4 separate regions of the Homo sapiens genome follow, and all the other regions are linked to region 1. Evidence: promoter capture Hi-C in 16 types of primary human blood cells and fetal thymus (Javierre and others, 2016). All regions are on one chromosome and are shown on one strand. The core of a region is centred on a gene start or on the middle of the fragment in contact, and the rest is flanking DNA. Distances in the headings are between cores, read along the strand shown.

Evidence for each region. The method cuts DNA at HindIII sites, captures the fragments that hold promoters and counts their contacts. A CHiCAGO score of 5 or more calls a contact.
Region 2: a fragment that was not itself captured here is called in contact with the fragment with the promoter of ATP1B1 in region 1 in 1 of 17 cell types (fetal thymus); the score reaches 7.1 in fetal thymus.
Region 3: a fragment that was not itself captured here is called in contact with the fragment with the promoter of ATP1B1 in region 1 in 2 of 17 cell types (fetal thymus and M2 macrophages); the score reaches 8.9 in fetal thymus.
Region 4: a contact is called between a fragment that was not itself captured here and the fragment with the promoter of ATP1B1 in region 1, in 1 of 17 cell types (fetal thymus). The highest score is 6.3, in fetal thymus.

Annotation. Positions count from the first base shown.
Region 1 is chr1:169,101,918-169,109,341 of GRCh38, forward strand. ATP1B1 (ATPase Na+/K+ transporting subunit beta 1) reads left to right here and starts at 4,773. Exons shown (of 6, transcript NM_001677.4): 1 at 4,773-5,009. The coding sequence starts at 4,913. LOC101928596 (a long non-coding RNA gene) reads left to right here and starts at 2,207. Exons shown (of 2, transcript NR_135799.1): 1 at 2,207-2,576; 2 at 2,793-2,990. RefSeq lists enhancers at 3,190-3,763, 4,254-4,548, 4,337-4,909, 4,910-5,482 and a silencer at 3,821-4,740. The HindIII fragment of the contact is 9,537 bases long and covers 1-7,424 here.
Region 2 is chr1:168,461,415-168,468,838 of GRCh38, forward strand. It overlaps LOC125312414 (a long non-coding RNA gene), which reads right to left. Exons shown (of 8, transcript NR_176090.1): 4 at 2,863-2,959. LOC101928565 (a long non-coding RNA gene) reads right to left here. Exons shown (of 5, transcript NR_176057.1): 5 at 2,700-2,959. Among named protein-coding and RNA genes, the nearest start is that of XCL2, 79 kb to the right of the region's middle. The HindIII fragment of the contact is 7,450 bases long and covers 1-7,322 here.
Region 3 is chr1:168,477,890-168,485,313 of GRCh38, forward strand. It overlaps LOC125312414 (a long non-coding RNA gene), which reads right to left. Exons shown (of 8, transcript NR_176090.1): 3 at 7,354-7,417. LOC101928565 (a long non-coding RNA gene) reads right to left here. Exons shown (of 5, transcript NR_176057.1): 4 at 7,354-7,417. Among named protein-coding and RNA genes, the nearest start is that of XCL2, 62 kb to the right of the region's middle. RefSeq lists a silencer at 4,408-4,608. The HindIII fragment of the contact is 1,876 bases long and covers 3,444-5,319 here.
Region 4 is chr1:168,531,764-168,539,187 of GRCh38, forward strand. No RefSeq gene overlaps it. Among named protein-coding and RNA genes, the nearest start is that of XCL2, 8.5 kb to the right of the region's middle. The HindIII fragment of the contact is 1,156 bases long and covers 2,574-3,729 here.

The DNA.
Region 1 (7,424 bases), core at 3,523-6,022:
TCATGCAAGTAAGTTCAGATTATTGCAAAGACCGGACACCTCTGCGGTCCTGCTAGAACAAACCAAACAAAAATCATTCTCTGTGTGTCTTCTTTTCTGTGCCTGCCTTGGTCACCTCCACTATCCACGTTTAATAATTTGGCAAAGGACATGGCAGGTGGAGAGAAATCCCAGTATTCTCACTATATCAGGGATGCTTTCTGGACGTCCTCTCAGGAAACAGGAAACAGCACAGCAGAAAACAACTTCTGGGAGTCTGCTAGTCAAGGCCTGGGAGCCAAGGTGTTGAGCGGGTAACCTACCACTCCCACTGATGACACGAATGGTCCGCTTACCAACATCCCTAGCAAAAAAAAAAAAAAGTCCTTTTTTTGTTATTTCCATACTATGTCCTCACACAAGGATTCGATTCCAGATCCAGTAAAATAGGAAAGTGCCAGAACAGAATGCCTTCAGATGAAAGAAGTGAACGGATAGGGTTTAAACTGCAGCAGTGCTAAATTATTGTTAGAAACCAGAACCATTTTGGAGAATGATTTGGTTTTCTGTCAAACAGGCCAGGTCCATTGTGCAGCACAGAATGAAGCCCCGGAGCAATCCGGCATCCTTCTGTGATGGTAAGGCACTCAGCCCAGCCCCATGTTAGGTGCAACCCAGGTATCTATGCATGTCCTGGCCAAGGTGGCAAGTCCAGCAGCATTTCCCAGAGCTCGTCCTCTCCCAGCCCTCTTTGTCTTCCATTGCAGAGCTGTGCATTCCACTGCAAACAGAGCCTGCCATTGAGCCATTTTTCTCTGCACTGCACATAGTTTCTGCTGCCAGGATGAGTCACCATGCAACACATACCCTCATCCCCTCCACGCTGTACTTAAAATACTCTAGGGCTGGCCAAACAGAACCCCACTGTGAGTGAGCACGTGTGTGAAGGTGGGATTGGCAGCTCAGCCCTGCGGAGCCCTCTGAAGAGCAGTCTGCATTGTGTTTGGCAGAGAGATTCAGAGAGCCAATATTTGGGGAGGGGCAGAGAGGGGAAGGTCTGTTTTTCAAATCTGGTTCGACCTCATGCAGCCTGCCAAGTTGCGCCCTCTCTTTTGCAGGCACCCCTCACTTTAGCTTCTCTGAACAGAAGGATCTTACTGCTAGGGGTTGATTTGTCCTGCCTCTTCTCCCAGCCCAGCTTCTGACTGGCCACCTTGCTACAAACAGGACTGCTCTGTCCTGCTTTTACCTGCCAGCCTGTCTGCCTCCAGCGTAGATTTTTCTTCAATCGCAAGAGCATCTATTCATTTCCTGAGTTAGAACATGTCATCCTCACTGGGACGGAGGTCTCTCACCGCTCTCCTGCCATTCCTGCTCTCCGCTTCCCCTCATCCACCCACAGAGCACTAACCTTGGGCAGAACCAATCACAGGACTCCAGAACCATGCCTCTTCCCCAGCCTGCACTGAAAAAAGGGATTAAAAATTGTTCTCTTCCTCCTGAGCCTTTAAACTGAACTGAATAATTTCTTTCTCCTTTCTGCAGAGAAACACTGGGTTTCCATACGCATTGACTGAAAAGTTGTCTTAGTTCCCCATGGTCCACACCCTCTTCCACGCCCAGCCACACACTCCACCTGCCGGGGCACCCCTCCCTTTGGAGAACCACACATGTTCGGCTTTCAACCTGCTGCTACAGCACCCTTCACAGAAGGGGCCTTGGAACAAAAGCCCAGCTCAGCACAGCCCAACGGGACATAAAGTACTTGAGTTATTCATTACTTGAGTTGGAGGAGGTCACACAGCAGGAAGCGCACTGGAAAGCAAGGGGAAAGGTGGCAGAGAGGGTGGGGAATGCGTCAGGGTGACCTTCTAGGGGCTGATGGGAACTCAGAGTCCTGGTATGGGGTGGGTATCAGAGTGGGAAGGTGACAAAGTCATAGCAACAGCCCCAAGGTTAGCCAAGGTCAAATGGAAACAGCTGATTATAATTAAGCTAGCTACTTAGCTCTTGCCATGCCTCAGGCACTGTGCTTAACACTTTCCCATATCGCTCCTTTTATCCTTGCAATAATGTATCACTTCAATTTTATGACTGAGGGAACAGCCCTGGAGAGAACAAGTGACTTGCCCAAGGTCACCCAGCTAGCATGCATGTTCTGAAGCTGGGAAGGTGAATGTAGGTCTTTACCAGCTTGTTCTGTGTGATGAAGTGGTTAGATGAGTGGTACAATTCCAGATGGTCTAGAGTGGCGGGGCAAGTGGAGTCTGAGATGAGCTACTGAGATAAATCTGGTTCCTATAGGGCTGAGATCATGTTTTCCAGCAGCAATCCCAGGACTGGGTGGAAACCTGGAGGTTTTCAGGAAGGCTGGAGGAGGCTGGCTTAGGATGAGCTGCTGCATTGGCTGTGCAGACGTGACCCTCAGGACTTCATCTGAACCTGTGAAGAGTTTCCATGCAGGGAAGGGGGGATGAGTAGAGCTAGGGACCTAAAATTTGAGAGGGGAAGATATTCCCCAGTGGAAGACAGTAAATCAAAGACTAGAGACCAAGCATCAGTCTACTGGGTGTTTGCTACACCTCTGAAGAGCTAAGGTAGGACACTTGTTTTAGGAAAAAAGAAAATCTGTCACTGGAGACTCTCTTTATATATTTTGTCTTACCATATGCTTCTTTTGGAAGGGGGGTTGGGAATCAAGGTACAGGAACGGAGTGGGCACAAGTAAGGGCACCACCAACTCCCAGAACCGCCTCATCCCTTCCCATGCTACCCTTTCCCCACTCATCTCTTTTTGCTGATTCTGCCTACAGGTTTTCCCTCCTGTTACAGTAATGGACACTCAACAACACATACCCTTCCCAGCAACCTGTCCTGCTGGAAAACTACTCGATAAGGTAACTTCTGCCTGAAGGGGACCAGGGTCATCATACCCGCAAGTGCAGCATCTTCCTGCAGCTCTCATACTACCAAGCTGGGGTTTTTCCAACATAAACATTACAGGTGCTAAACGAGAGGTGGCTTCCTTTCTCAATAAGCTGTTCTCTCTCTCGGATGCCCTTGACAGAGCCCTGCAGCCTCCCCCACTGGGGCTTGGTGGATAGGTGGTCGCTTCTCCCCCGAATTTCAGGAATGTTTAGGTTTGCACAGGTCCTGCAGGCGAGCTTGGAGAAGGATTAGAAAAATGCTCATTCTTAATCAGTTCGGGCTTGTCTTTATGCCAGCGAGGTTGACCTTGGGGACAGAAGGGTGGCCAGGATAAGGACAAGCATCCTGGTATTGGGGAATTCTCTGATATGGGGCTGGGACGTCAAGATGGGCCATGATGGCCCCTGGGGATAGGGCTTCTCTGCAGTGGAAGCAGAAGCATCCCGGTGTTTTCTGCTGTGTCACTGTCCTCAGAGGGATGTATAAAGCTGCTTGGGGGCTCATAGGAGAGGGATGAAACCAAGAGTTTGGCTTTCCAGCAACAGCGGACAAAGAGTGGGAAGGGGTACTCTATGCCCCAGGTCTGCAACATCTTGCCCTATGCGCTAGGTTTTCCCAAAGGTCCTTTGGCTCCAAGAATTTTACAGCAGAACAAAGGGATCGATACCCCCAAGGGGGCATAAAAGCATGCCAATGAGAATACCCGCCGCCGACCGGGCACCAAGAAAGTCCTCGGTGGCTGGGTCACGTGCAGATATTGTTGCCTGGGGTCTAGACTGGCCTGAGTCTCAATTGGTTTCTACGGGACAACTCACTGCGGGCTACCGCCCTGGGTGGGTTTGGCAATTGTCCTGCTCGAGGTGGTTCAGGCCGCCCACAAGGGGCACAGCCGGGCAGTCAGGAACCGGGGCTGCCGGCTGGGCTGGCCTGCAAAGAAGAGGGAAGGGCCGGAACTGCAACCGCAGTGGCGGGGAGTGCGAGGGGGCGGCAGGTGCAGGAGCGGGAGGCGGGGCGGAGCTGGGCAGAGTCCTCGCCAGTCCGGCGTCCCGGAGTGACCTTCCCCCACCCCGCCAGCGCCCAGGAGGGGTGGACCCACAGCCCAGGGAGGCCGAAAGCGCGGGCGGGCAGGCAGAGGCGTGGAGGCTGGGCCAGGACTGCCGGGCTGGGGTCCTCGAGGCTCCGGGCGACCCAGGTGCGGATCCCCCAGCCACGGAAGGGGCGGTTCACGCCCAGCCGGGAGCTGGGAGGGGGCTGCGCGGCGCTGCCTGCGCGTCCCTCACCGCCGCCCCCGCCTCCTCCTCGCCCCGCGCCCAACGCCCCGCGCCCAGCGATCCAAGCGGCCCCTCTAGCCCCGGCGGCTCCTTTGTGCCGGCCCCGAACCCGCCCTCTCGGGCCGAGTCCCTGCCCCTGGCGCCGGCGATTGGCCACCGGGCCGCTAGAGGGCGGGGCGCACGGCCGCCGGGGCGCGGTATATAGTAAAGGTAGGGCGGGCGCAGCCAATTCCTCGGCTCCTGGCGGGAGTGCCGGTGGCGCCCCGCAGTCCGCTTGTCCGTCCTTCCCTCTCTGACTCTCCTACCCCGGGCCTGTCTCTGCAGAGGTCAGGGGAGGCGGGGGCCCAGCACACGTCCCCAGTGGCAGCGGGAGCGGCAGCTACGGGTTCGCGGAGCCCCCGACCCCCCAAGGGCTAGAGGAGCGCTCGGCGGACCAAAGAAAGCCCGCGAGCGGCTGCGCGCCCACCAATAGGTGCGGGGCTCGGAGCCGCGCAGCCTGCGCCGTCCCTCCCTCCGCCCCCGCCCCGCCGCCGCCGCCGCCGCCGCCTCCCCCTCCTCCTGCTCCTGCCTTGGCTCCTCCGCCGCGCGTCTCGCACTCCGAGAGCCGCAGCGGCAGCGGCGCGTCCTGCCTGCAGAGAGCCAGGCCGGAGAAGCCGAGCGGCGCAGAGGACGCCAGGGCGCGCGCCGCAGCCACCCACCCTCCGGACCGCGGCAGCTGCTGACCCGCCATCGCCATGGCCCGCGGGAAAGCCAAGGAGGAGGGCAGCTGGAAGAAATTCATCTGGAACTCAGAGAAGAAGGAGTTTCTGGGCAGGACCGGTGGCAGTTGGTGTAAGTACGGGGTCCGCAGCTCCCGGCCGCCGCGTCTGATCTTTCCCGGGCGGCGCATCCCCTGCGCAGGGTCCGCGGCCGGTTCCGCACCCACCGCGCTGGCCGGGGTGGCGGGGGCGAGGGTGGTGGACGCTGCTGGGTCGCGCCGGCCTGGGCTTGCAGTCCTGTGCGGAATGCGGTGTCCCCAGAGTGGGGCGCAGGGTCGGGGCTGGAACACGACAGGCGGAAGGTTATGCATATCGTAGCGATCTTGGCTTGGTAATTTGCAGTCTTTCCTACCGTGCATCGGTTGAGCCTTTTACTCCTGGGAATAGTCAGGCTCTGCGAGACTACATTTGTCTCTCCCGTGTCCTGAGTCCTTAAAAAAAAAATGAGATCTGGGGTCTTGAGAGAACCTCGTGAGGTGATGGGATCTAATGCAGACGAGGTTGTGTGTTACAGCATCTTTCTTCTAGTCTAAATACGTATCTCAAAAGAGAGGAAAGAGAAGGGTGGAGAGGAATCCATCCACACTGTAGTATTTCACAGCGATGGCTAAGGATTTCCCTCCATGACCTCCCCTGGAGTCATCACCACCCAGAAATGGTTCAATAAGCTCCATTTCAGGACTCCGATTCTTAGCTTTGGCCCGAAACCTGGCAAAGTCTGGTTGTTTTCAAGGTCTACACAGACAGTTGTGGATCAGTCAGTAGGTTGGGTTGATTATGGTGAAGGGAATATAAACGCAGAGCAGCTGATCTTAAAATATTTTGTGCAGCCTGTTGCTTGGTTGGATAGACTTTTTTCCATCGAAAATTAGATTTCTTGTTTTCAGCCTCTCCGGAAAGGTGACTTTTTTTTTTTTAAAAAAAAGGTCATTTTGAAGGGCAGAGTTGTAGGCGAATCTATGAGTCGTGACTGCGTGAGGGAAGGAGGGAGGGAACTCCCCCTGCTGCATCACTGCCCCCTCCTCCTCCAACATCATCATCATCATCATCATCATCATGACCATCACCACCAACACCACTGGCACCACCACTGCAGTCATTCAGGGAGTCCTGAACAGAGGCCGATTGGTGTTCCTGCTTGGGAGGATCTGTGGGAATCGGCAGGAGAATGAGTCAGGGAAATAGTGCTTAGCTGACATTTTGAAATGGAAGAAGCTGGAATATATGAATTTTTGTAAAGAAAAAAAAATGCAGCCTGTGAGTCTCTCTTGATTGAAAATTAAAGGGTTAATAATGCATCACACTTCAAGGTTAGTCAAGGTGAAGCGTCTTTCCAAGGTGTTACTGGGAAGCATAGGTATCCCTGAGCCATGGAAAATGTAGTTCTTTAATGGCTTTTAGCTTTTGTTTTATATTTTATTTTGGGGAGACTTCTTCATTGAGATTATTGTCATAGTGTCTCAGGCATAAAGGTAGTTTCCTGTGTTTTACTGTGGAAAGGAAAACCTGAAGAACTGTGGGGTGTGTGTAGAATGAACAGCTCCCTGGCAACTCCTTGTAACTTGAGGGAGGCCTGGAAGGTGCACTGCGGTATGGGCACCCTTCTCCCCAGGTTAGCTGGGGCTTCCTTCTCTGGTGGTCTGACCCTGCTGCGTCACAGGGGCAGGGGCTGCATTGACTCTAGGCACATTGTGAAATTTGCCTTCTTGTCTTTTTCCCCTTAGTATAATATGCATCTTTGCTCATTCCAGTTTCATGCTTCTCAGAATAATACTTGCTTTAGAGGGTAAGGCAGTATGGACTGACTCATTTTTAAGCCGACATTTAATGGGCAGCACCTCCATGAGAGAGAGAAAGAGAGACCGTGTGTGTCAATTTTTATGTCTTGATATCCTATCCAGCAAGCTATCAGTATGCTGATTTGTGAATGTAGACCCAGGACTGCTGTACTTGCCTCCTCTTCCCTTCCATGTTCCACGGTACAGGTGCTGGGCTAAAAATCCCCTTTTTGTTTTGTGCTAATATGTCTGCCCCTTTCTGGCAGTGTAAAAACTGTCAGAGCCTCTCTTAGGTAGAAAAGGCGGCAGCAATTACCGTCTCCTACGGAGAAAATGCCCCTTTTCCAGCACTGGGCCCAACATGGATGCCCTTGGGGCGAGGGCAGGATGCCCTTGGCTCGATTTTGCTTATAGGTAGATTTTCACCAAGATGGACGCAGGAGACTCGCCTGTCACCTGCTGGAGAAATCACAGCATGCAAATCACTTTGTGCCTTCTGCCTTTTTATTAGGTTAATACAGACATTGGTAGGTTTTATATTTACAGCTAGGCCTGGATGCCTGCCTGTGACCTTTTGAAGGGTACACACTGTTTGTTTGTTCATTTGTTTGTTTTTCCAAAAAAACCTCTGTATTACTTTTTTTTAAAAGAAGAAAAATTGCGTGAAAGGGAGATGCCTCTGAAGCCTCTCAGCTCCCCTCACAGTGCCA
Region 2 (7,424 bases), core at 2,348-4,847, 640 kb before region 1:
GCTTCCCTTTGCAGGTGACCTGACCTTTCTCTCTGGCTGCCCTTAACAGTTTTTCCTTCATTTCTACCTTGGAGAATCTGATAATTACGTTTCTTGGGGTTGAACTTCTCGTGGAGTATCTTAACGGTGTTATCTGTATTTCCTGAATTTGCATGTTGGCCTGTCTTGCTAGGTTGGGGAAGTTCTCCTGGAAAATATCCTGAAGTGTGTTTTCCAGCTTGTTTCCATTCACCTCATCTCCTTTGGTACTCTAATCAATCATAGGTTTGGTCTTTTTATGAAGTCCCATATTTCCTGGAGGCTTTGTTCACATTTCATTCTTCATTCTTTTCATTCCTTTTTTCTCCATTGTCTGCATGTCTTATTTCAGTAAGGTGGTCTTCAAACTCTTATATCCTTTCTTCTGCTTGATTGATTTGGCTGTTGATACTTGTGCATGGTTCACTCGTGCTGTGTTTTTCAGCTCCATCAGGTCGTTTATGTTCCTCTCTAAACTGGTTATTCTAGCTAGCCATTTATCTAACCTTTTATCAAGATTCTTAGCTTCTTTGCATTGGGTTAGAACATGGTAGGAGCCACAGTTTCTATCCTCAGTGTGCTTACAGTTGGGGAAGTAAGACATTTTGGAGCAGGAGAAAGAGTGAGGGCTTTGAAGTCTGACAAACTTGAGTCTGTATTTTATAATCTGTAAAGTAGAAATAATAATTTATACCTTGCAAAGTGATTTTGTGATAAAGAAACACAAGATGTAAATGTTTGAATACTATTAAACATTATCATTATTAAAAACAGATGATCTTGCAAGCATATCTGTGAAATGCTGACCAACAGCACAAAGAAAGATCACAATCAGAGGGAGTTGGAAGCTGGTTGGTAAAGGCTCCATAAAAGAAGATTGTTGTATTGTCACTGATATTGTTAAGAGGAAGGACACCATGTGTGTCTTCATTCATTGCTTATCTCACACAGTGCTGCTGTTGCTAATGGACAGGTTGGATCCTGCTGTCCTTGAGAAATGGACTATGTCCAGTACGCCATATATGTCCCCCTGGGAGTTCATGAGGAGGTTCACCTGTGTAAGAGCAGGAGCGGAGCCACTCAGGCCTGTTGTAGGCATCACAGTTGGTAGAGAATAGAAAAGAGTCAGAGAAAGGGGGAAAGTGTGCAGAGAACTTCAGGTCTCTCAGACAACTGCCCAAGGGCAGGGGACGGGGAAAAGGGCCCAGGGGAGAGGGAGTGCAGTAGAGAGATGGCCTCTGCCGCCTTCTCACCAGACCACCTTTGCTGTGTTTCTGGGCCAAGGGTCTTGCCTTCATCTTCCTTTTCCATCCTTTTATCCGGGAGGATTGGGAGAAAATCCTTGTTAAGAAAAGGTCTCTTGGCCGGGTGTGGTGGCTCACGCCTGTAAACCCAGCACTTTGGGAGGCTGAGGTGGGTGGATCATGAGGAGATCGAGACCACCTTGGCCAACATGGTGGACCCTGTCTCTAAAATACAAAATTTAGCCGGGAATGGTGGTGTGTGTCTGTAGGCCCAGCTACTTGGGAGGCTGAGGCAGGGGAATTGCTTGAACCTGGGAGACGGAAGTTTCAGTGAGCCAAGATTGTGCCACTGAAATCCACCCTGACGACAGAGTGACACTCTGTCTCAAAAAAAAGAAAAGAAAAGAAAAGAAAAGAAAAAAAAAGGTCTGCTGAGGAACACTTTAGATAGCCCATATGCAGGAGGTAGTCCAGCATTCCTCATGTGTTGCCATTCTTTTTTCTTGTATTTTCATCCACTCATCCTTTCCTTTACCTCTTTCTACTCAGTTTTGTTCCTCTTCTCTCTCAGGGTCAAGGATAAGAGAGGAGAAAGAAGAGAAAGAGTGAAACGAGGGAAGGCAGCATAAGTGTGGTTATATCTAGTTTCCCTCTTGGGTGCTGGGCTGCTGGGAAAACTGGCACTTCCAGTGAATTCCTTCAGGGTTATGGAGACTGAATATCTTAATTAAGTGAGGTTGCCTTTTAAAAAGCCACTTGGATCCATTTTTATTGTGGTCTATAGTGCTTATTTCTTTGGTGTACAAATCTGATGGGAGAAGATCCATCAAAAGAAAGGGGAGGGGATAGAGGAGGAAAGAATGAGAGATGGGGCACTCTTGGTAGTGTGTCAACCAAGCCCTGGCTGCCTCAGGTACTGATTTGCACCCCTCCACTCCCTCCTCTGCCATCCAGCCTGGGGACCCCCATGCATGCCTTGTGCTTCTCAAATCTGCCTCTGCTTTCTTTCCAGGAGCCTTATTTCAACGCAACAACTTAGAGTTATTTCCTTCTCCTGTATTACTTTATTCCATCTTGACTTTCTCCCACTGTAGCAATGATCACACTGTAGTATATTAATTATCTTTTGGTTGCCTTTCCCGCTCAGTAGACCATAGTCTTGTTGGGTGGAGGGACTGTGCCTTTTTCTTGTTGCATGCATGTACTGGACACTCTAGTGATATTTGCTAAATGTTAAATGAGTGAGCAAATCCTGCCATGTGTAACCTGGCACTCATTTACCTTATTCCCCATCTCCTGAAACCTGGTTTTCCCATTTCACTAGCACAATCTTCTCTGGTGTCCAGTGTGAGAGTTGGCATAGAGTTCAGCTAGCACCTGCAGAGCCTTCCTGAGACTCCATTCTCAGAACAATCACAAAATGTGGTCATAATGAGCCAATGTCTTTTCTTTTTTTAATAGTTTAAACTTTAATTTTACATTCAGGGGTCCCATGTGCAGATTTGTTATATGGGGATTGTATTAGTCCGTTCTCATGCTGCTAATAAAGACATACCTGAGACTGGGTAATTTATAATTGAAAGAGGCTTAATTGACTCACAGTTCAGCATGGTTGAGGAGACCTCAGGAAACTTACAATCATGGCGGAAGGGGAAGCAAACACATTCTTCTTCACATGGCGGCAGCAAGGAGAAGTGCTGAGAAAAAGGGGGAAAAGCCCCTTATAAAACCATCAGATCTCATAAGAATTCACTCACTATCACGAGAACAGCATGGAGGTAACTGCCCCCATGATTCAATTACCTCCCACCAGGTCCCTCTCATGACATGTGGAGATTATAGGAAATACAATTCAAGATGAGATTTGGGTGGGTATATGTATATAGATATACCATATCAGGTATAGTGTGTGATGCGGAGGTTTGAGGTATGGTTAATCCTGTCACTCAGACAAGTGAGACAGAACCCAGTGGTTAGTTTTTCAAACCTTATTCCCCATTTCCTCCTCTCTCTAGTACTCTCCAGTGTCTATTGTGGCCATCTTTATGTCCAATGTTTAGCTCCCACATATAAGTGAGAACATGTAGTATTTGGTTTTCTGTTCCTGAGTTAATTTGCTTAAGATAATGGCTTCCAGCCACATCCAAGTTGCTGCAAAAGACATGGTGCATTTAGTGCTGCAATGAACATGCAAGTACATGTGTCCTATTTATTTTCTTTTGGATGTATACCCAGTAATGGAATTGCTGGGTTGAATGGTTAAGTTCTTTGAGAAATCTCCAAACTGCTTTCTACAATGGCTGAACTAATTTACGTTCCCACCAACAGTATATAAGCATCGCCTTCTCTCCACAGCCTTGACAGCATCTATTGTTTTTGACTTTTCATGTAATGACCCATAGGCTCAAAGTAAAGGGTCAGAGAAAGACCTATCATGCAAATGAAAAACAAAAAAGAGCAGGGGTTGCTATTCTTATGTCAGATAAAACAGGCTTTAAACGAATAACAGTAAAAAAGGACAAAAAAGGGCATTACATAATGATAAAGTTTCCAATTCAACAGGAAGACTTAGCTATCCTAAATATATATGCATCCAATATTGGAGCACCCAAACTCATAAAATAACTACTTCTAGACCTATGAAAGGACTTAGACAGCTACACAATAATAGTGGGGGACTTCAACACCCCACTGATAGTGTTAGAAAGATCACTGAGCAGAAAACTAACAAAGAAATTCTGGACTTAAACTTGACACTTGACCAATTGGACCTAATAGACACCTATAGAATACTTCATCCAGCACCCACAGAATACGCATTCTTCTCATCTGCACACAGACACAGAACATACTCCAAGATCAACCACATGCTTGGCCATAAAACACGCCTCAATAAATTAAAAAAAAATCAAAGTTATACTGACCATAATCTCAGACCACAGTGGAATAAAAACAAAAATCAATACCAAAAAGATCTCTTGAACAACACAATTCATGAAAATTAAATACCTTGCTCCTAAATGACTTTTGGGTAAACAACAAAATTAATGCAGAAATAAAAAAAATTCTTTGCAATAAGTGAAAACAGAGACACATCATACCAAAATCTCTGGGATGCAGCAAAAGCAGTGTTAAGAAGAAAGTTTATAGTGCTAAATGCGTACTTCAAAAAGTTAGAAAGATCTCAAATTAAACATCTAACATCACACCGAGAGGAACTAGGAAAACAAGGCCAGTGCCTTTACCTTGTAGCCCCAAAGAAGTCTGACCTCAAGAATTGGAATGTAGGATTTTTGAGGGAAACGGTGAGCCTGAAAGCAGTTAGGAAGTAACCTAATTCTCTAGCCACTCACAGAGGGTGCAAAATCTCAGACCAGCAAACAAGGCAGGGCAGAAAGGCACACACTATATATCAACAGGCCATGGATGGTCGTCACCATTCAGACTCTCCAATATTCCTTGTTAACAAGCTGAAATCAGATGATCCTCATTTTCACTTGAGCCCAGGGTTATAATTTCTTGGAAAGTGCAAAGGGAGGCAAACTATAATGGGAAGGAAGAGCAAGTCAACATGAATCTGAGGAAGGGGAATGCTTTTCATTCTGGTTTTTGAACAGGTGGTGGTCAGAGCTGGCAGAAAGCCCAGGATATGTCAGCAGTCCCGGAAAAGAGATGTTCTTGTTGTAAATCTCATGTTGATTCTTGCCCCTCCCTCTCCACCTCCCACTCTTACACATGCTCACGCTTCTTAGTAAGTACACTGGAGCTACCTCCCCCATGCCCCACAGCACATTGTACCTCTGCTAGCACAGGGATCACGTTCTGACTTACAGTGGTTGTGGGTGTCTCTGTCTCTTTCTCTCAAAACAAACATATTGGAGTTTCTCACTCATCGACATTTCTGCACCAGTGCCTGCAGACAGTTTTCCTCACTGTGAGGACTCTAAATACTTTCATTTACTGGAATTAGATTTACCCTTTTGGCTAAGGTGTCATATGGACAGGGGAATTACCAAGTCCAAGAGTAGTTTTGGCTTCCTGATGGGAAAGAGTTGTTGTATAACAGGAATCCTACCTAGGCCTCCTATTGCTCATTCCCAAGACAATTTCTTAGGCCCATCTTTGTCTTCCCAAATTGCCCTTATTTTTTGCCACTGCCAAGGCCCTATGGTCTCAGCTGGCTTCTCTCTCCTTTTAGGCCATTCTCCTTGCTTTGTCCCTTGGTACGCTTTAAACTTAACAGTTCCCTAAGACTGGTTCCAGAGCAAGGTCCTGCTTCCCTGCTATGTCTCATAGAGAAGTGAAACCTCTCTTGCTGCTTTTCACAGGGGAGAGAGACTGGGTCAAAAACAAAACAGAGAATCATACAAAGCTGTTCTTTAATTCCTGACTCCCTCATAAGACAGACTAGAAACTCTGGTGAAGTCTGTGATTTGCTCTTATCCATGAGGATGAGACTCTCTCAACTCCCTTCTTAAATACAGGCTGGAGGATAAAACTGAGGTCCTGCAGTTTGCATAATAGCTGACATCTATTGAGAATCTACTGACTACTAGGAACTATATAAGTTGTGTACATACTATTTTGTTTACTTTTTCAATTAACCACATGAGATAAATACTATTGTAGTTGCATTTTGTCAATACAGTAACTGAGCCTTAAAGAGATTAAGTTACATGTTCAAAATCCCCTAGCCATGAACTGATGGACTAGGGTTTATATCTTATTCGAAAAACAATAGTATTAACTAATGGTTACTCAAAAAGGATGTCTTTTAAATTCCAGTGAGAAGTTTGCATCTTTGAGAATGTTAGGATGGATAAACATCCATGTCACTGCTTCTCAATAAAAAGAACAATTATAGTATATTTTCTTATTGCTAGTCTAACCGGAAATAGTCTGGTTTATTACTTATAAACTAGTTCTTGGAACTAAGACCGTAAACCTTGACTTGGTGCAGGAAATGGTGTGGTTTTACATGCTCAGGAAACAATGACCAGAGTAAAATATTTGACAAATTTTATGCTCTGATTGAGAATTGGAGGCCTGGGGGAATACCTGAATGACTTGCATGCTGCTAAATATTTTTCCACAATATTTTTTTAATGGTTGCACGGTATTCCATTGTATGGTTGCAATATAATTTAGTTGCATGACATCTGGGCAATAGGGGAGTTTCTAAGAGCAGGAGGAATTTTAGAAAAGAGAAACTGAGTATTAGGTGTTCAGTAGCCAGCTTTTCCAGCTTTAGGAATTTTCTTGGGACTAGCTCTGTCCAAGGGGTAAACTATACATGCTGTATACTTTTCCAGGCAGGAAGGGGAAAGACCCATGCTTCTTAGTCTAGCTGCCTCCCAGAAACCTTTGCAAAGGTCATCCAACTCAATCTTGTAGTCTTGGAGAAGGCCAATTCAGATTCCAGTTCTCTTAAACCAGCTACAGAAAACATAACTTTTGTAACTCAGTAGGGTCAGGCTTATTTGTAACTTAGATTGGCTGAAGCCTTTATTAAGTGAAAAAAGATGGAAGCATAACAACATTCCTAACTGAATGCCATTCATGGAAAGAATGTCTGGAATGGAATCCTCTGTCTTGGCTAAATTTGAAAGAATAGCATATCCTGAAAAGAAGCATGAAGGAGATTATCTGATCTTACCTACTGGCTAAGGATCAAAATGTTAAGAAAAGCACACGAGATCATCTTTCTGAAGCAGGAAGAGTCTACGAATCAGACATACTGAATTAAGTCATGAACCAGAGTCATGTCCTAGAATTGTGTCCATGAACCTGGCCAAGACATTTCCTATTCCATTTCAGGTCCAAGATTCTCATAGTGCAGAGCTACCTTTCGAAACATTTAATCACAGATCTTCTTTCAGACTGGACAGTGATCATGGCATCTTTCAGGCAGAAAGAGGAGGGTTAACTTGGCTGGGAGAGGAGATAAGGAAATGTCTAACCAGTCTTCTCACCACCAAAAAACAAAACAAAACAATTCAAAACGAAACAAAACAAAAAAACTATTAGCACCTGGCACAGCACCTGTCATATAGTAATAGAAGCTTAATACATATTTTGTGAATAAATATAAAAATTAGAGGTTGAAGTAGAACTGCGGACTGTCCATTACCATGCTTGATACTTCAGTAGAATGTGTGCCAA
Region 3 (7,424 bases), core at 3,132-5,631, 620 kb before region 1:
ATCTCTTCTGCCACCTTCACAGGCAGAGACCATCTTCTTATAGTTTGCCCTGCATAATTCTCAGTTCCTGGCCTAGAGGAAGTATTTAGTAAAGTTTGCTAGACTGAACTAATTTCCTAACTCTTGGCATCCCCATCTATTTCCTCACTCCCTTATGTCATTTTTGTACTCTGTTTTCTTTTTAGTTTTTTTCCCTCTTTCAAAAATGAAGATGATACAAATGAGCTTATTTAGGACAGACACTAAAATTATCAACTGTTGAGAAGGTAAAACATTTATTTTTCTCAGTGTCTCTCTTTTTTTCCTTCTTTTCATCAGAGACACTTGAGTTAAAATTCTTACTTGCTAAGTTTATGACATTTGATAGGTTTCTTCACTTTGAGGTTTCTATCATTCTATCTGTAAAATGGGGACAACAGCGCTCACCTTTCAGATGTGGTTGCAGGTTGAGTAAGTAATATATACAAAGCATGCTGCTTTTATTTGAGTCTCATAAAAAGCTTTATAGAATTATAAAGTATTATATTCTCCCATCTTTACAGATGAGGTTCAAATTCACATGTCTTAAGTGAGAGAACCAGATAAGATTTCAGGTCTTTGTTTCCTAATTGTTTCCTATTTCACTGGCTCTTTCATTTGACTCCAGGGCTAGCAAAAACCAGTGTCCAAGCTGGGTGTGATGGCAATGCCTGTAGTCTCAGCTCTTTGAAAGGCTGAGGCACTTGAGCCCAGGAGTTGGAGGCTGACCTGGGTAACTTAATGAGACTCTGTCTCTAAAAACAAACACAAAAAACACACCAACAACAGGCAAGCAGAGAGTCAAATCATGAATGAACTCCCATTCACAATTGCTACAAAAAGAATAAAATACCTAGGAATACACTTAACAAGGGAAATGAAGGACCTCTTCAAGGAGAACTACAAACCACTGCTCCAAGAAATCAGAGAGGACACAAATAAATGGAAAAACATTCCATTCCATGCTCATCGAAAGGAAGAATCAATATTGTGAAAATGGCCATACTGCCCAAAGTAATGTATAGATTCAATGTTAAAACTCCCATTAAACTATGGTTGACATTCTTCACAGAATTACAACATATAATAAACTATTTTGAAATTCATATGGAACCAAAAAATGCCTGAACAGCCAAGAACATCCTATGCAAAAAGAACACAGCTCAAGGCATCACACTACCCAACTTCAAACTATACTACCAGGCTACAGTAATCAAAAAGCATGGTACTTGTACAAGAACAGGCACACAGACCAATGGAACAGAATAGAGAACTCAGAAATAACACCACATACCTATAACCATCTGATCTTTGACAAACCTGACAAAAACAAGCGATGGGGAAAGGATTCCTTATTTAATAAATGGTGCTGGGAGAACTGGCTAGCCATATGCAGAAAATTGAAACTAGACCCGTTTCTTACACAACATACAAAAATTAACTCAAGATGGATTAAAAACTTAAATATAAACCCCCAAACTATAAAAACCCTAGAAGAAAATCCAGGCAATACCATTCAGGACATAGGCATGGGCAAAGATTTCGTGATGAAGATGTCAAAAGCAATTGCAACAAAAGCAAAAATTGACAAATGGGATCTAATTAAACCAAAGAGCTTCTGCACAGCAAAACAAACTATCAACAGAGTGAACAGACAACCTTACAGAATGGGAGAAAATTTTTGCAATCTATCCATCTGACAAAGGTCAATATACAGAGTCTATAAGGAACTTAAGCAAATTTATGAGAGAAAAACAAACAATCCTATTAAAAAGTGGACAAAAGACATGAGCAGACACTTATCAAAAGAAGACATACATGCATCCAAGAAACATGAGAAAAAGCTCAACATCACTGATCATTAGAGAAATGCAAATCAAAACCTCAGTAAGATACCATCTCATGCCAGTCAGAAAGGCTGTTAATAAAAAGTCAAAAAACAACAGATGCCAGTGAGATTGTGGAGAAAAAGGAACACGTTTACACTGTTAGTGGGAGTGTAAATTAGGTCAACCACTGTGGAAGGCAGTGTGGCGATTCTTCAAAGACCTAGAGGAAGAAATACCATTTGACCCAGCAATCCCATTACAGGGGTATATACCCAAAGGAATATAAATCATTCTGTTATAAAGATACGTGCACGTATATGTTCATTGCAGCACTATTCACAATAGCAAAGACATGGAATCAACCCAAATGCTCATCAATGATACACTAAATAAAGAAAATGTGGTACATATACACCATGGAATGCTATGCAGTCATAAAAAGGAATGAGATCATGTCCTTTGCAGGGACATGGATGGAGTTGGAAGCCATTATCCTCAGCAAACTAATGCAGGAACCAAAATCCAAACACTGCATGTTCTCACTTATAAGTGGGAGCTGAATAATGAGAACACATGGACACATGGGTGGGAACTACACACTCTGGGGCCTGTCGGGGAGAGTGGGGGGAGGGAGAGCACCAGGAAGAATAACTAATGGATTCTGGGCTTAATACATAGGTGATGGGACATGGCACACGTTTACCTATGTAACAAACCTGCACATCCTGCGCATGTACCCCTGAGCTTAAAATAAAAGTTGAAGAAGAAACAAGCAAACCGCTAGTTGCAGAATTCTCAATATGGACTGGGCACTTCTGAGTGGGTAGTTTGGAATTTTCCTAAGTTGAATCCTAAAATGACCTCTGATCGATCAACATAATTAATGAGCTCCTTGCTGTGTGCCCAGCACTGCCAGTAGCTGCTTTAAGGGCCATAGATGTAAAATCACATTTCATGCTCTCATTGAGAAGGCAATCTAGCTGTGCTGACAATGCTGACTTCTGTGGAACAATAGTGGATATGACAAGCCAGAATATAACAAGATGTGGAGAAAGTGGTGTGCAAACTCTAAGACCTGCTGGACCAAAGAGCTGAATGAATGAGGAAAGGTGAGGCTGGGCTTTTCAAAGGCAAGATGTGAGAACTGTGTCCTAAGAAATGCATAGGATCTGGCTGGGGAAGCAGGAAATGGGGCATTTGGGGAGAGGAGATGGGGAGCAGCCTGTGGGGCAGCAGCAAAGCTGCCAAACTTCTGTTTTTCATGTACTCCATGTAAGTGTAGTTATCACAGTTTAAAAATATCTGAAGGACAGTGTCAGCAGCAATGGATTTCCACTAGATAGTTGGGTTACAGGATTAGAGCATGCAGGCTTACGCAGAGCCTGTTCCAATAGGTGACCTTGTCTGGGACTCCACATCAGCAGGGCTCATCCTGTCCTCTGTCCTGCTGTGCTCCGCTGTGGGGCCTGTTGCAGGCTGAGAATTGAAGGGGAAGAATCAAGTGCCAGGAGAGGGAGCTGGGGGAAGCCAGAGGCTGGCTCACCTGCAGAAGGGTGGGACACCTCCTAGCTGGAAGCTTGTCAAGCTTGGAGCTAAAGCTTAGTGTTGGCCACCTCTTGCTGAGAGGGAAAGGGAGGAAGTGAGAAGGGGGCACTTGTGTTCTCCCTGGGGCCTGGGATTGCTAATCTCTTTTAGGGAAGCAATGATTTGGGCTTCAGTGATAGTCTGACTCCAAACTATGGAGTTCTAAGGAAGCCAAAAGAGAAAAAGATTATCCCTGATTGAGGAGGAAGGACTCATGCTGCTCACACTCAAATAGCAACGTGAAATACAGTTTTCTTTAAACCACCCCTTAAGGAAATAACCACAAGGTTTAATATGACAGTTTTTGAGATAGTGAGAAAACTACAAACAAACTAAATGCTCAAGAATAGGGTCTTGATTAAATGAGTTATAGGGAGTTCCTATCAGGAGGTACAAAGCAAATATCAAAAGCGAGGCTGTAGAGCAGAAATCAGCGAACTGCGGCTCATGGGCCAATCTGGTGAGCTGCCTGATTTTTTTATGGCCCTTGAGCTAGGAATGATTTGACGTTTTAAATGGTTATCTAAGAGCTTACATAATAGCCTCAATTTTGCTTTGTAGCCTGCAAAACTTAAAACACTATGTAGCCCTTTAAGAAAAAGTTTGCTCACTATTGCTATAAAAGGAAATTTAATGAGATGCAAAATTTTTATTATTAATTAGGTGAGAATATAGTGTTAATTTGTGTCTAAGTTATCTGTTGCTGTGTAACTACCCTGGAATCTGGCATTTTAAGACACCTACCATTTTGCTTGCTCATTATTATGTGGGTCATGAATTTGGACAAAGCAGTGTAAGGATGTCTGGAGCCTTGGCCAGGATGATCTGAAGGATGAGGAGCTGGCTGGGATGGTTCTATGGGTAACACATGTGTAGGGATTTAATTGTCTCCATCTGTGACTGTATTCTTCTCCATGTGGTCTCTCCATGTGGCTAGCTTGGGCTTCCCTACTGCATGGCAGGCTGAGGGTAGATGGATTTCTTACATGGCAACTGGTTTCCCCAGTGCAAAAGCAGAAGCTGCCAGCCTCTTAAAGGCCAGGCATAGCTTCATTCTGCTGCATTTCACTGAATGTCCTAAAGAATTTCAAAGGTCACAAGGTCAGCCCAGATTCAAAAGAGGTGGAGAGATAAGCCTCCTCCTTTTTATGGGAGGAGCAACATATGTGCACAGAAGGCTGTGGGTGGAGCAATGTGGAGCTGTCTTTAGAGACCACCACTGTGGATAGTAAATATACACAGAAATGTACCTACATTCCACAATTTTAAGGGGATACAAAAATATAAAGGAATGGCCCTACCTATTCTATAAATTTGTGGTAGACATCTGTCATATTTACGCTTACCCGTCATCTTTGAATAACATTTTTAGATTTGAGTAAGTGAACCAATGTCTCACCTCCTTGCAGCTAGGATGCAAACATGTGAATATAATATTTTCAACAAAACAGAACAAAAAAAGTGTTAAGAAATCTTGAGCTTTGGAGCCAGACCATCTTAATTCAAATTTCAACTTTGCCACTGATTGTTCATGTGATCTCAGACTAGTTACATAATTTTATGTGCCTCAGTTCCTTCAGCTATAAAAAGGGATATTCATAGTACCAACCTTTTAGGGTTGTTTTGAGGCTTAAATGAGTTAATGTTTCAAAGAGCTTAGGATAGGCCTAGGCTCTGCCAATCAGACATAAACATGAAACTTTAATTCAAATATGAGACAGCAACTGACTCTGGATCTGTAAAGACATCCAACTTTTACCCTAGTCACAAGATCAAAATGGAATTGGTACTGGTGGGAGGAGTGGCTACAGAATAGTCTAGTTCCAGGGATTTATATGTTGTTTCCCCATTGAATTAGTTCTGTGTGATTTTGGGCATTATTCCTGAAAGCTTCAGTTCTAATCTGTTTTTCCAGCTAGTTCAATAATTCTGAGGGCAAATGTGTCTTTTAAAAACCTCCCCACCATCATTTTCCCTCTAAACTATATAGAGTGGATACAGTGGATTCTGTTGTTCCCAATTAAGAAGTGTGGCTGATATAAATGTGGTATGGTTTCAGGGATGCAAAGAAAGGCCTTTTGGACAATTTTTTATGTCTGGAATTGTAGCATCTGGGAATTTTCTCTAATGCTTTTATGTTGATATGCAAACCCTGGAAGGAAGGTGTCATATACAGAGTTTTTAATTATTTTTGTGTAAAGTGCTTTATTTGGAGCTGGAGTGGGGGCACACTAATTTGGATTCCTGTCTAAGCAGCTTGAGTCTGGAATGAGAAGTGAGATCTGTTCTGATTAATTTTTCTCCTTCCTTGTTCTCCAGAGTTGGGCAACATTACATTGTTTTGTCATCTCACATTTCCAAGGTTGCCTGATAATAACCAGAACTTGTTTTTGCCTTAAAATGTTTCACATTCTTTCCCCTGGGTGACACATAAGATTTACATAATTTCCATATTTGTCTGATTCACTTAGGCTAAATCATTCAGTAGATCCAAGAAATACCTTTGATGTCATGATTTGGAGCATACCCACATCCATCTGAAAAATGTTCAGTGGTCATTGGCAGGTACTGTCAAAAGATGCCAAGAACCTCGTGGAAGAAAATGTAAACATTTCTATACTAGAAGTGAAGCAAGAGCGGCAGCTAGGTTCACTTGAATATGTGTGTAATAGTTGTCATGAGAGGAGGGGTTGAAACTTAAAGAGGATTGTAAAAAATTTAAATGGAAGAGAAAATTTCTGGGTGGGTGGGGAGGGATTGCATAAATTGAGTGCACACCTTTAACCTATTGCAGGGACACCTTGCCAATACTCATAATGCTGCAAGAATCATGATAACAATGTTATTTCTTAAGATTCCATGAGGCAAACTACTATCATCTCTATATTACTCCATGGACACTCAGAATGGGTTATGGTGCCAGTCATTATGACCACTTTCAGGCAGATGAGTCCATCAGGCCTTCTTAGAGTGTTTGCTCTCTGCAAGATGGTGTTACCCCTGTGGATGGGGACAGAGAGACACATGGGCTAGGTAGACATGGTGAGGCACTCAGGCAACCCAGCATATCAGAGAATGGTGTTGGCTAAAGTATGGATGGGGGCAATAGAAATGGGTTGAGGGAGGGCAAAACAAAACACCACAGGTGATGAGAAGGGCCACTAAAAATAACATAAGAGCTTGTTGGAAACAGATTTCACACATGTATTTTACATTTTACTAAGAGGACACCTCTGCTTAAATGTTACAGAGGTCTGTGGCTTTTCTGTTTTTTTTGTTTGTTTGTTTGAATAGAGTATTTCTATGAAACTCTGCTTAAAAATGAGAAGCGCTGGGACCTAGAAATCAGAAGATTACACCTGGGTTCTTAGATTCATTTTTATGATCGGTGTGTCTTCAAGCCTGTTGGTTTACTTGGTTATGTCAAAAAGGTAACATCTGTAAAATGAGAAAGTAACATTCATGTTACTGTTGGTGGATATTTGATTATGAATTATAGACGAGATGATATTAGATAATTATTAATTTTTTAGGTATAATAAGGGAAAATGACATGTTGCTTGCAATTTACTAAGATACTTCAGTTTTTAAAAAAGACAGATGAATAGTGATTTGTTCATATTGTAAGTTTCAGGAGATGAATAACACCATTCTATCTACTTTTCTATCGGTTGGAAATTTTTCTTAATTAAAAGTTAGAAAAGAATACTCATCTTACTTATCTCACAGGATTGTTGTAAGTACCAAACAAGAAAATGGATGGAAAATGTTGTATAAACGGAAAAGCACTAAACAAATATGAGTAGTAGTTTTTTAAATTGTTCTTAAGAATAATACAAAAGATTACTGAGGCTTGAGTAGGCGGTTTTCCCCTCCCAGTGTTAAGGAAGCTGCCAGGAAGTTTGTACTGGGTGGAACTCACCGCAGTGCAGCAAAGCTATGGCCAGACTGCTTCTCTAGATTCCTCCTCACTGGGCAGGGCATCTCTGAAAG
Region 4 (7,424 bases), core at 1,902-4,401, 570 kb before region 1:
TTCTCTCTTCTCTCTGATGTCTCTATATCCTGTCCCACTTCTGAGTTAGGTGCAGGAACTGTGGTTGCTGTGATTGTACTTTCACATGTAATCCACCAGCAAAGATTGAGAAAAATCACTTTCTCTTCTGATATACTCATTACCCTGTAATCTAGGGAAAGCGGAGGGGGTAATCTAATTATCTTAGTCTTACTCTGAACCTGTTGTGTGTTATTTCCCCAGATGGCCAATAATTGGTCTTAGGCAGTGCTTACGTGTGAAGGTGACACATCTCAAGGTGAGCTGTTCTGGTGGGAATTGCTCTCTGGTGGGAGCATGTTCTTACTTCTTCAGGTTTCAGAGAATTCTGGCATGCTGCCCTTCTTTCCAGAGCTAATGAGGCATGGATAACCATTCCTTTTACAGTTGCTCTGTCTGACATGGATGGCATCATTGTCTGGCAACTTGATGAAGTATATATTTTGGAGGTGAATGCATGAGATGTGGGTTCTGATGGCCTACCTCAAGTCCTGGCTTTGCCACATAGTTGGATGACTTAGGCCAGTCACTTTATCCTGTCTGCATCTCAGTCTGTTCATGAATACAATGGACACGATCATACCTGCTGTTTTCCCTTACAAGGCTCTTAGGAGGATCAAATAAGGTAAGGGATGTGCAAGTGCCCATAGTGCCAGAGAGTTCTATAGTGTAAGCATCACTAGGCTCTATAGCGTAAGTCAGAGAGCTGACTGGGGTGGGGAGGCAGAGAGCAGGGTGGGGAGATGAGTGGGATTGTCTATCACAGGGTCCTGAGGCCCTCTTGGGGATTCCTGGCAATGAGCTTTCGAGCCAGGGTTGGGAGGGTAGGTGGGAGGTGCGGAGTAGAGGGATGGGGTTGGGGGACTCCTGCCAGGTGGAGAGGCCCCAGATGCAGCCTCAGCTTCCCACAAGATCCCTAGGTGCTATCAGTATGGGAATGCAACTCCTGAGCATCTGGTACCCATTCTCAGAACTTTTGCCTCCTACTTCTAAGGCCACTCTCATGGGATCCTTATTTTTTAAAAAAGAAGAGCAACAGGGAGTAGGACCTCTCTTGTAGACAGAGAAAAACTAGAGCAAAACTCTTAATGTGTTCAGTTGTGCATGACCAAGCATCTCCACAGAGTTTCAAGAGACGGGAGGCTGCATGCCTTATTCCGTGCTGACCCTTCTGTCTATGAATTTCAGCCCACACCGTGGAGTATTTGCATGATGTTCACCTGAGCTTCTCCCTTAGTGGGGGCGAGCATGGGACACTAAGAATGGAAGATGAATGTGTGTCTCTGACTATGTGTCTTTGTATTCCAGAGCCAAAAAATAAATACCCTGCAATGTGCTTGCTTTACGGTGCAAGCTTCCTTTAATTTTTGGTGTCACTCATCAAGTGTTGAGAGTAATAATTATTTATAGTGTTTATAACTGCTTTTGGCATCATGCTGCTTCAATATTCCTGATAGGGGGAAGGGAAGAGTCCTGTGGAGAGGAGGTGGGTATAAGAAAAAACTGGTTAAGGATTTTAGAGCTCGAGGATGGAAGGAACCTTGGAGAACATTTCTTCTCACCTTTTCTCTCTTCTGGTAAGTGGTCCTCCAGACTCTGCCCAAACACATTCAGTGATGCATAATTTACTGCTTCTCAAGTCAACCTGCTTCCTTTCTGGACAATTGCAATGGGATAAAATAATTTATAGAGTTATGCTGAAATATGCTTTCTTCTATTTTCAATTCTTTGGTTTTAGTTATATCCTAAAGGTATTGTCTCTCTAAAAGGATCAACCCTACATGACGCATTCAAGAGACATTGTCATAATAGTCCTACTGTTGCCTATAGGGATTCAATCAGAGTTTCAGGCATGGTAGAACCTGAAATTTCTCTAATAAGCAGTTTTGTAGATACCCTTTATGAGTTATGTTAGAGGAAGTTTCAGTAGAACCTGCAAAATGGTAAGGAAAGGGAATCCCAGATAGCGGTGGGATCTATAAAATTCAGGAATATTTAAAAAATCCTTAAGACAATGTACAAAGGACCCATTTATTGCCCACATATTATGCCAGACACAGTTCTGGCGCTGTGTCTACAGTGGTAAACACAATAGGCAAAGTACCTGCCCTCCTGAAGCATACCTTTAAATGAGCACAAGACCCCAAATCAAATGAGTAAACTAGTCAGTATCGTAAAGCGATAAACACTATGAAGAAAATGAATAAGGCAATGAGATAGACAGCAACTCTGTGTTTATCTGTAATTTTGAAATAGGAAAATATATCAGATTATTTTTCTTTGTGAGTTATTCTTTGGGAATATAGTTATGGAATCTTTCCCTCACCCAGGTGTAATAAAGATATTCTCCTATGTCTTCCTTGTTTCCCTTCCTTCCTTCTTTCCTTCCCTCCTTCCTTCTTTCCCCTTCTGCCTTCCTTTCCTTCCTCTTTCCTTCTTTTCCCTTCCCCCTTCCCTTCTTTTCTTTCTTCTTGCATTTAATGTATCAGAAGTCTATTTTTATACATGGTGTGAGGTAGGAAACTTATTTTATTTTTCTCTGTAAAATAAGCAAAAGCTTCCAGCAATATATTGTGAATAATATACCTTATTCTCATCTGATCATAGTTTATATATACACATACATACACACATATGTATGTGTGTGTATGTAGATGCATAATTTATAAACATGATTCTGAGCTTTCTATTGTTCTCGTTGTTAATCTCTAAATTAACACTACTGTGTTTTTTATTATCACAGCTTTATCTTATGTCTTAATATTTGATAGGGGAAACATTTACTCTTGGTTTTTCTTTTCCTAACTTGTTTTAGCTATCTGTGAATGTCTTTGTGTCATATAAATTTAAAAATTGTATTAGAAAGTTTTGCCCAAAAACTCTGTGGAAATTTTAACTGGAATTGCATTGAATAGTAGATTGATTTGGGGAAAACTGATATCCTTACAATGTTTGTCATCTGGTTCGTAAATATTTGCATCTTTTTTGTCCTTTAATAGAGCCAAATATTTCTTTTATATTAAAGCAATATAAATATATTATGAAGCAGAATGCAAAATCATCACAAATTTTAAGATAAATAATGGAACTTCAAGGGACTGTTACACTTCCAGTGTATTATAACTCCTTGCTACCAAGGCTTTCTTTTCTTTAGGAGAGATCTCTCTCCTCTGCCCTTGAGACTTGGCTGGACAAGTTTTGCCCTTATACATCATCCTGCAAGCAAACTCTCTCCTGAGTGGTTAAGTAGGTGGCTACTGGAGTCAGATCAGTTGTATTCAAATCCCTAATCAACTATTTATTAGCTGTGTAACCCTGGACAAATGCTTTAACCTTCCCAAATTCTTAGTTTTGTCAGTAGCAAAATACAGAATCAAGTAAGATAATGTGTGCCAAACGTTTAGCAGAGTGCTGGAGATGGAATAAGTGCTCAGCAAATGTTAGTGACTATTATAAGCAATTTTAAGCTATACTTGTTATGCTCTAACACATGGGCATGTGACTGTACCTGTCAATAAAAAAACAGAGAAGAAATATTTGCCCTATCAAACATTAAATGAGGTTTCTGAGGCAACTGCAGTCTAAAGCTATTCCTTGTTCTCTTCAAAATGCATAACTATTAAAAAAATCAAATGTGTGAGGTTAATCTCAATAAGCAAAAAACTAAAACAGACTACAAAAGAGTAAAGTTGAGGCATCTGGTAGGAGAGAAGCTTATACAATATTAAGTTTTTAATAGAAAAGAGATAAAAAGCTTTGCAATGGGAATTGTGAATGATTTTGTGGCCTAAGTTATAATATCCAGAATGAAAGTAGAGGCCAAGAGGCTAAGAGAGAAATCCTATAGTTATTACTTAGCAGAGTTTTCACTACTCTTGGCTTGGGGCAAGGGCAGAAGCAACAGGAAGGAAGGGTTGAAGGGTGTTTTATTATAAAGTTAAGCTGCAGTTGGGCAGGAAACCACAATGTCGAAGACATTCTCTTGAAGGAACTGTTAAGGTAACACCAAGAGCAAGTGATAATACTGAAGTCAGTGAAAGGGACTGCCAATGCAGGAGCTACTTCTTGAATTACCTAAAAAGTTGATGTACCACTCCCATTAGGGGGGATCAGGGTCCACAGATATCAGACTTTTAGGATAAATCAACTTTACTGCCACTGGAACTTTGAATAAACATCCAGGGTTAAATAAATTACTAATCAGTAGTAGTTGAAAGAAGAGGAAGACAGTCTATGCCTGGGGAAGTTTCATTTTAATTTTGAAATCAACAGTTATTTTTTAAAACTGTTACAATGTAAGGGCAGGTAATTTGTGTCAAATGGCTGTTTATAAAACTCTTAATGAAATCATATTTTTATCAAAAATGTATAATTATGATGGGTTCTAACAATGTATTATTTATTATTTCTTTCTCTTATCCATACCAGAAAACAGTTTAACTGCAGATCAAATTGCTAATACGATTAGTGCCTAGTGGAAATAATGAAATTGAAAATGTAAAGAATCAGGAGTACATAACCAGTTTCTAGGGGCATGCATTTATGAATTCAAATTATTAAGAAAATAGCATATATATATATATAGTTGATACACTGGATATTATACTAAGTGTTAAACTTTCCACTGAATCATTCCCATTAGTGTACAAACTTGTTATTTTTTCTCTCATGTAAAAATCAAAATAAACAAACAAAACACCATCTCTTGACTACACTTCCACTTCAGCTGTAGTTCTTTTTCTCTGCAAGCTTCTTTTTCTCTCCAAGCCTCTATAGTGATGCTTATGAGACAACTGTCGTCTAAAATTATTCTCTTTAAAGAGTTGTCATTAATTCTTCTCCCAGGCCTTCTCAACCCTTCTTCAAAAGTTTCTGCTCTTACCAATCCACTGACGCTTTTCCCCTTATAGTCATTCTGTGACAGCCATGCTGTTAAATCCAACTATTTTTAAGTTCTAATTTCTGACTTATTTACAGCATTTGGCAAAGTTGCTCACTCTATTCCTGCAAACATCCTCCTGCCTTGATTTCCAGGATACCACACAAGATTGGGTTTCCTCATATCTTTCTGACTTCTTCCCAGTTTTCCTTGCTGGTTCCTCCTCATCTTCCCAATCTGTGTCCAAGGCTCAGTCCTTGAACATTTTATATTTTGATCAACTCTACCTACATGCTTTGCCCATTATCAAGGCTTTAAGTGCCACATATAAGCTAATGACTCCAAAATTAGTATTTCCAGCTTAGACACGTCCTCTGGATTCCTGACCTAGCTATCTGACTACTTGACATTTTCATATGGATGTCTACTAAGCACCTAAACTTAACATGACCAAAACAGAGCCCCTAATATTCTCCCGAAAACCAGCAACTACTGCATTTTCCCACCTCAGTTAATAACAACACATTCTGCTAGCTTTTGAATGTGTTTGCTCTTGCTTCTCTAGTTCTTTTAATTGTGCAGTTAGGGGGTCAATTTTAGATCTTTCCTGCTTTCTCTTGTGGCATTTAGTGTTATAAATTTCCCCCTACACACTGCTTTAAATGTGTCCCAGAGATTCTGGTATGTTGTGTCTTCATTCTCATTGGTTTCAAAGAACATCTTTATTTCTGCCTTCATTTCGATATGTACCCAGTACCCAGTAGTCATTCAGGAGCAGGTTGTTCAGTTTCCATGTAGTCGAGCAGTTTTGAGTGAGTTTCTTAATCCTGAGTTCTAGTTTGACTGCACTGTGGTCTGAGAGACAGTTTGTTATAATTTCTATTCTTCTACATTTGCTGAGGAGTGCTTTACTTCCAACTATGTGGTCAATTTTAGAATAAGTGAGATGTGGTGCTGAGAGGAATGTATATTCTGTTGATTTGGGGTGGAGAGTTCTGTAGATGTCTATTAGGTCTACTTGGTGCAGAGCTGAGTTCAATTCCTGGATATCCTTATTAACTTTCTGTCTCGTTGATCTGTCTAATGTTGACATTAGACTCTATGGAAATTTTAACTGGAATTGCATTGAATAGTGGGGTGTTAAAGTCTCCCATTATTATTGTGTGGGAGTCTAAGTCTCTTTGTAGATCTCTAAGGACTTGCTTTATGAATCTGGGTGCTCCTGGATTGGGGGCATATATATTTAGGATAGTTGGCTCTTCTTGTTGAATTGATCCCTTTACCATTATGTAATGGCCTTCTTTGTCTCTTTTGATCTTTGTTGGTTTAAAGTCTGTTTTATCAGAGACTAGGATTGCAACCCCTGCTTTTTTTTGTTTTCCATTTCCTTGGTAGATCTTCCTCCATCCCTTTATTTTGATCCTATGTGTGTCTCTGCATGTGAGATGGGTCTCCTGAATACAGCACACTGATGGGTCTTGACTCTTTATCCAATTTGTCAGTCTGTGTCTTTTAATTGGAGCATTTAGCTTTGTTCTTTTGGCTTAGGATTGTCTTGGCAATGCGGGCTGTTTTTTGGTTCCATATGAACTTTAAAGTAGTTTTTTCCAATTTTGTGAAGAGAGTCATTGGTAGCTGGATGGGGATGGCATTGAATCTATAAATTTCCTTGGGCAGTATGTCCATTTTCATGATATTGATTCTTCCTATCCATGAGCATGGAATGTTCTTCCATTTGTTTGTGTCCTCTTTTATTTCATTGAGCAGCGGTTTGTAGTTCTCCTTGAAGAGGTCCTTCACATCCCTTGTAAGTTGGATTCCTAGGTATTTTATTCTCTTTGAAGCAATTGTGAATGGGAGTTCACTCATGATTCGGTTCTCTGTTAGTCTGTTATTGGTGTAGAGGAATGCTTGTGATTTTTGCCCATTGATTTTGTATCCTGAGACTTTGCTGAAGTTGCTTATCAGCTTAAGGAGATTTTGGGCTGAGACAATGGGGTTTTCTAGATATACAAGCATGTCATCTGCAAACAGGGACAATTTGACTTCCTCTTTTCCTAATTGAATGCCCTTTATTTCTTTCTCCAGCCTGATTGCCCTGGCCAGAACTTCCAACACTATGTTGAATAGGAGTGGTGAGAGAGGGCATCCCTGTTTTGTGCCAGTTTTCAAAGGGAATGCTTCCAGTTTTTGCCCATTCAGTATGATATTGGCTGTGGGTTTGTCATAAATAGCTCTCATTATTTTGAGATATGTCACATCAATACCTAGTTTATTGAGAGTTTTTAGCATGAAGGGCTGTTGAATTTTGTCAAAGGCCTTACCTATTGAGATAATCATGTGGTTTTTTTCTTTGGTTCTCTTTATATGATGGACTACTTCTATTGATTTGCATATGTTGAACCAGCCTTGCATCCCAGGGATGAAGCCCACCTGATCGTGGTGGATAAGCTTTTTGATGTGCTGCTGGATTTGTTTTGCCAGTATTTTATTGAGGATTTTTGCATCGATGTTCATCAGGGATATT